Regions from separate parts of the Homo sapiens genome. Here region 2 is linked to region 1. The links are contacts of gene promoters, found by promoter capture Hi-C in human tissues and cell types (Jung and others, 2019). All regions are on one chromosome and are shown on one strand. Each heading gives the region's core, a stretch centred on a gene start or on the middle of the fragment in contact. The rest is flanking DNA. Distances are from core to core; before and after follow the strand shown.

Evidence for each region. The method cuts DNA at HindIII sites, captures the fragments that hold promoters and counts their contacts. A contact is called where the count stands out against the background at its distance.
Region 2: a contact is called between a fragment that was not itself captured here and the fragment with the promoter of BMPR1B in region 1, in 2 of the 25 tissues and cell types used here (dorsolateral prefrontal cortex and mesenchymal stem cells).

The regions. Positions count from the first base shown.
Region 1 is chr4:94,756,335-94,759,474 of GRCh38, forward strand. BMPR1B (bone morphogenetic protein receptor type 1B) reads left to right here and starts at 1,621. Exons shown (of 13, transcript NM_001203.3): 1 at 1,621-1,734. BMPR1B-DT (BMPR1B divergent transcript) reads right to left here and starts at 1,199. Exons shown (of 3, transcript NR_121610.1): 1 at 1,060-1,199. The HindIII fragment of the contact is 6,502 bases long and covers 1-3,140 here.
Region 2 is chr4:94,822,827-94,825,966 of GRCh38, forward strand. All of the region lies in intron 1 of BMPR1B (bone morphogenetic protein receptor type 1B), which reads left to right. Among named protein-coding and RNA genes, the nearest start is that of BMPR1B, 66 kb to the left of the region's middle. The HindIII fragment of the contact is 5,155 bases long and covers 1-3,140 here.

The DNA.
Region 1 (3,140 bases), core at 371-2,870:
GGAGTGAGGGTATCAGAGAAGAATTGGGATGAGAGTAAAATGAATGGATTTTATCTTGGAATTCTTGGGGCAAGAGGATGAGTACTGGTACTGGGGACTGGAACAGTGGTTGAATAAGGAAGGTCAGATGATGTCAATGACTAATTTCACTTGTTTTGGAAATTTTCTTTCAGATACCTTTCTTCTTCCAGTTTGGCATTAGAAATCACAATGCAGATATATCATGGGGCAAAAAGACCTTTGTGGAGACTCTAACATTGCTTTTATAGAAAAAACATGACCACATCTTCATACACTCAATAAACACTGGGGGCACCGCCTGCTTTAAGTGCAAGCTGCATAAAATAAATTGATACACAAATGAATTTTTTATTGATAAGTGCAAAAAGATTACATTTAATGTTTAAAAAAGATTTAATAGAAACAATTTAAGAAAAGGGAGTAGTTGAAAGAAAATAGTAGGCTAAGAATTGAATATAGAAATAGATATGAAGAAAATTGGAAGAAAGTTACTTCAGGGTGAAAAACTGTTAAAAAAAAAAATGACTTAGATCACACACTTGGTGGTGACCAGAGACTGTTTGTCAATATTTTGGAGGAAAAAAATTTTACAGAAGGAGAAAATAAGTAATGCTGGAGAGTGGGAAGCTGAAAGGTATTGAAAGGAAAAGAGTATTTGGAAGTCACGAGATATCTCCCTGGGAAATAGAGTTGGCAAAATGGCTGATTTTAAAGAGGTTAACTATTCTCCCCAAATTTCTGACTGTGAACTAGCTTACTTTATATTTACCCACTTAGAAAGTGTTTCAACACTTAAAGACTTAGCAAGGAGACCACAAAGTATAAGACGTTACATACTTTTCCAAAAGAAACACGACTAACTGTAAACTGTCATCAAATACAAATGGAATGGGTTTTCTCTTTTGGGTTTTATTTTTTTATTTTTAATTTTTTGGTGGTTGTTTTCGTTTAACGGTTTCAAAAAATATGTAGAAGGGAAATATTTCATTTCCCTTGGACGCTCAACTGTATATATTTCAAGATTCTTAAAACCCCCACCTCAAACTGCAGGCTTAATTTTAATGTGTTCATTTTTTACAAGGTGTGTCAACGTTTTATCAATTTCTGAAAAGTGTCTATGGCCCCGAAAAGTTGAAATCCACGACATTATATCATCTCTGCGAGCCCTTTCCAGCTCTCAAGGTACAATAATTCCACGAATCTTTGTTCTTCAAACCAGGAGGTTTTCTGGAAACCTTCTTAAACAACCAGGACAGGACCCATGAGGGAAATCTTGGGGATGCTCTGAGCAGCGGACGGGGCTTGGGAAGCGCACCCCTGTACCCGGGCTGCCTCCGGCCCGCACCCCGCCGCTCCCCAAGTCGGCTCCGCACTCCGCACACAGGCGGCGGCGCTGGGGCCGCTCCAAGTGCGTTGAGAAGTGTAATCCCTCCGCTAAGTACTTGGCTCTCAGTCTCCAATCACTAGTGGGAGCTGGAGAGGGCAAGTGAAAAAAAAAAATTCCAGAGGCAGCCGAGGAGCGAGAGGGAAAAAAAAAAAAAAAAAAAAAAAAAGTCCCGCGGTGGCGGCGGCGGCGGCGGCGGAGCGGCCGCGGCGGCCAGAAGTTGACGGCGCAGCCGGGCGCGGGGCGCGGAGTCGGCGGGGCCTCGCGGGACGCCGGGCAGTGCGGAGACCGCGGCGCTGAGGACGCGGGAGCCGGGAGCGCAGCCGCGGGTAAGGCGCGCGCGGCGGGGCCCCGTCCCCTGCGGGTGGCCGAGTTCCCGAGCGCGCGGGAGGCGGCCGAGCCGGCGAGAGCCGGGCAGAGCGAGGGGCGGCGCGGGACGGGTAGCGGCTGGGTGCGGAGCTGGGCGGCGGTCGCCCTAGGCAGGACGGAGCGCGCGAGGGAGAGGGCGAGAGCGAGGGCGGGCTGCGCGGCCGTGGGGCGGTGGCGGCGGCGGGGAGGGGGTCAGGCGGTGGCCGCCTCGGCTTTGTGCGCGGGCGGCTCTGCCGGGACCCCGAGGCCTCGTGCCTGCGCAGGCGAGGAGTCGGGGCAGCGGCGGCGGCGGGCGGGACACGTGCTTCGGGCTGTAGGGACGCCCCAAGGCAGGGAGTCGGACCTGCGAGCGGAGGGATGGGGCGGGAGGGCGAGCTGAGGGCAGTCGCGGAATCCGGGAAATGGGAGGGAGCCCGGCGGGGCGGGGGCCCAGGGCCAGCCCAGGCGGGACCCGCAGGCACCCACCTGCCCCGGACGCCTCCCGAGACCCAGCCTTGCCGTGGGGGAAAGTGCGCAGCGGGCTGGTCCCGGCGCCTTGGACTGGGCTCCGTCTCTGCTTCAGTTGCCTGTCTCTTCTCCTCTCTCTCCTGCTTCTCTCTCTCTATGCCTCTCTCTCAAGTTCTGGGTCTTTCATTCTCTCCCTTTTCTTCCTTTCTCCCTTCCTCTCCTTATTGCTATCCTTTGCCTCTCCCCCCGGTCTCTCTTTCCTTCCGTGCGTCTGTCTCCCTCTCCCCACCGCCTGCTCTGGCTCTCCCAGTGTGTCCCTCCTCTGTCCCTTCATCCTCTTCCCTCTGTCACTTTCGCACAATCTTTTGGTCTCTCTCTCTCTCTCAAGAGGCTTTCGCTCCCGGTCTTCCTGGCTCCCCTGTCTCTTGCTCTCTGCGCCCATCTCTCTGCTCGTCCCTCTTTCTGTCCAGGCTCCGTGTTTCCGCCTGTGTTTGGCGGTGTTGGAGAAGAGCCTCTGGAAGTTGTCCGCTGTGGTGCGGGTCTTACTTCTTTAGAGCTGCACCCCTCCAGCTGGGTCCTGCTGTTTGTTCTGAATGGAAACGCTGCAGTTCCCTTGAGTTATTAGAAACTGCTCTTTTCTTAGCCACCTTTCCAGCAAGGTGAGGTCAGTGACTACGAGCGGCCACAAAGGTGCCAGTGAAAGACAACGGAGGAAGAGAGCCGTTTCACTACCTCCAACAGATAAAGAAAATGTGTTAATACCAAACTTACCTGCAGCAAAGCAGAGCCACCTGAGAAAAGGTTCTTGAGTTCTGCAAAGAAACATAAAAGGCTCCACTGGAAATGAGAGGGTTCAGCTAAAAAGTGTTTGCAAATAATTTGAAAAAGCACTTAATGGAAATCTCTTGCTGTGCTAAAT
Region 2 (3,140 bases), core at 464-2,963, 67 kb after region 1:
GCCAAGCCAATGGGAAGGATACAAAGGCTTTTTTGGGGTAATAGTGTTTTTCCACACTGCATTGGTGACTTTTTTGTCAGCTAAGCTTTGAGTCATGATTGCATTTGAATGGGAAATGATATTCCTAAAATGTGTGCCTTAGATATTGTTATATTTTTGACTCCTGGTTAAAAAGTATTAATGTCAAAAAATAAATTTTTTCAAGTTAACTTTTGGTATCTATGCTTGGCAAACATTTCCACAGGCAGCCACTGTATCCTACACTATAAGCTTTCCTGTTAACCAGAAACTCTTTTAATTGCTTAGTTGAAATATATTGAAATCATTTGTTAATGAGCTTGAGGTGCTCTTTCTCACTTCATATTCTAAATTAACCTCACCAAAGAGTGACAGAAGGTGTAAAAGAGTTCTGAGATAAAACTGCTTTCCAAAATTTTGGTTAAAGCTAGAATGGAAGTGGGCAGAGAAGGGCTCCTTTGCTTTTGAGGGGTCAGTGGGAGAACGGATGTGGTAGAAAGTTAGCTTGGTTCACTACCATGCTTCTCTCCTGGTGGGCTGCCACATTTCTGTGGGTGGATATGTATGAGTTATGAGAAAAGGCTGGGGGCAAAGCTGGTGTTCGGATCTATGTTTTGGGGAGCTGTGCCCTCATTTTGGAGGAGCCAGTGTCTGGAAAGTGATTCTGAGAGACAACTAGCAGAGGAGAAGGAATTAATGGTCACAGTTTATGAAGAAAAAGAACCAGGATTGCATACTAAGCCCTCTACTGCACACACAGCCTAACCTCTCTATAAGGCAAAGATGTAACCATACATATATTTACCAGGGCTGTTTTCTGACTGAGATATGGAATAGAGAAAAGGTTAGATATGCCTGTCTGAGCAGCCTACAGATTGAAGAATAGTTTTTAGTATCCTTTTGGTTTTTTTTTTTTTATTTGAGATGGAGTCTCGCTCTGTCGCCCAGGCTGCAGTGCAGTGGCATGATTTTGGCTCACTGCAAGCTCCGTCTCCTTGGTTCACACCACTCTCCTGCCTCAGCCTCCCAAGTAGCTGGGACTACAGGTGCCTGCCACCACGCCTGGCTAATTTTTGTATTTTTAGTAGAGACGGGGTTTCACCGTGTTAGCCAGGATGGTCTCAATCTCCTGACCTTGCGATCCACCCGCCTTGGCCTCCCAAAGTGCTGGGATTACAGGCATGAGCCACCGTGCCCAGCCACTATCCTTTTAGTTTTTAGAGTTTAAAGCCTTATTTGGTGTTTAAATTTCTTTCAGAATTATAATGAAGTAAAATGAAATGTTTAATTGATCTAATTCAAGCATTTAAAGATACTAACATTTTTGTCTGAGTTTTGATGCACGAATTTACCACTTAATTCTAATTAGCCTGATCATTGCCAGCACTTTCCCATGCATCCATTCAGGAGGAAGCTAAGGAAACCTTCCCCACCGTAACTTTTTCCTTCTCCATGAATTCACCTGTTAATCAGATGCTTCTTTGTGCTGGTACACAGTTCTGTGGTAGCACTTATTATATGGTTCTTGTCTCTTCAGTGTCTCATTTATTTACTGCACTGTGAGCATGTGAACAGAGCAAGTATCTTAATCACTTATGGAGCTTCCAAACTTGAACCACTTCATGGTTTAGCCCCAAATGCAGACACTAAGGTAGTGTATCCTTATGCTATTTGAACTGATCTGTTTTTAAACATTCTGGTTATTTTCTAAAAAGCTCATTTGAATAAAGAAATTATAAAATGAGAACTCATTTTTACTGTCTATATGACATTTAGAGAATTAATTTTGTCTGAGAGAATGAAAACATTTACTTGTGAAATAAGGCAAATAAGAATTTTATTTAAAAGATTTGATTCACACAGAAAAATTTCTGTTTAATTGATCTTGGGGAAAAATGGGGAAAATTTGGTATGCTTTTGAGTAAAAACGTTTTTATATTGGGTAAATTTTTATTTTATAAAATAAAAATGTAATGAAAGTTATATATAGTGTTCAAATTATTGTCTAGTTTTTGTGTTTTACAAAATTGTAGTTACTGAAATTTGTAACATGGACTCCTTGATCAGTTAACTAATTTAAATGGACATTTTGTTACATTGGTGCATTAGGTAGAACAATGTTGGATGCAAACAGAAAATTTCAATACAAGCTTACTTGAAAAAGAAGGACGTTTAGAATCTCTTTTAAGTGGATGTTCATGTAGTTTTGATGCCAGAGGTGATTGATACAGACTAGAAGCTCAATAATGTCATTCCAGACTCATGTTAAGTGTTCTTTTTGTGGATGGGAGTTCATCGCTAGTCTCTGACATTCTGTGGTGGCCCCATCCTCTGGCTGTTAGCAGCAGATACCACTTTCAGCTATAAGAATAGTACTACTGGGTGTGGTAGCTCATGCCTGTAATCCCAGCTACTCAGGAGGCTGAGGCAGGAGGATCTATTGAGCCCAGGAGTTTGAGACCAGCCTGGGCAAGAAAGTGAGAGGTCATCTTTACGAAAAATTTTTAAAAATTAGCTGAGCAGTGTGGCATATACCTGTAGTCCCAGCTACTCAGGAGGCAGAGGTGAGAGGATCCCTTGAGCCCAGGAATTCAAGGCTGCAGTGAGCTATTATCATGCCACTGCACTGCAGTCTGGGTGATAGAGTGAGACCCTGTCTCAAAAGTAAAAACAAAACAAAACAAAACAAAATAGTACCATCTTTTTTTTTAAGATGGGAAAAAACCTTTCCCAGAAATCTTGTGGCAGACTTGCCTTCTCATTGGCAAGAATTGGGACCCTTTGATTTTCCTAAACCACCATTGACAAAATACATGGGTGACAGTGCCTGGTTGCAATAGTTCTGGGGAGTAAAACAGAGTACTATTGTAATGGGTAAATCCAGACTGCCTTTATACAAATATCAAAATGCTTTGCAGAATGTGGAAAGAAAATGGATTGCATTGCAGTCTATTTTTCTGAATGGAAATAGTTTTATTAATATAAGAAAATAAAAACAAATTTTATAAGTACACATTACATTTGTAGAGAATTAAAAATACCACAACAAAGGATATTTTTTCTGTTTTTCTAAACTTTGGAGCCAGGCATATGGTAACATTTCTTTTTTATTTTAGGCTTTT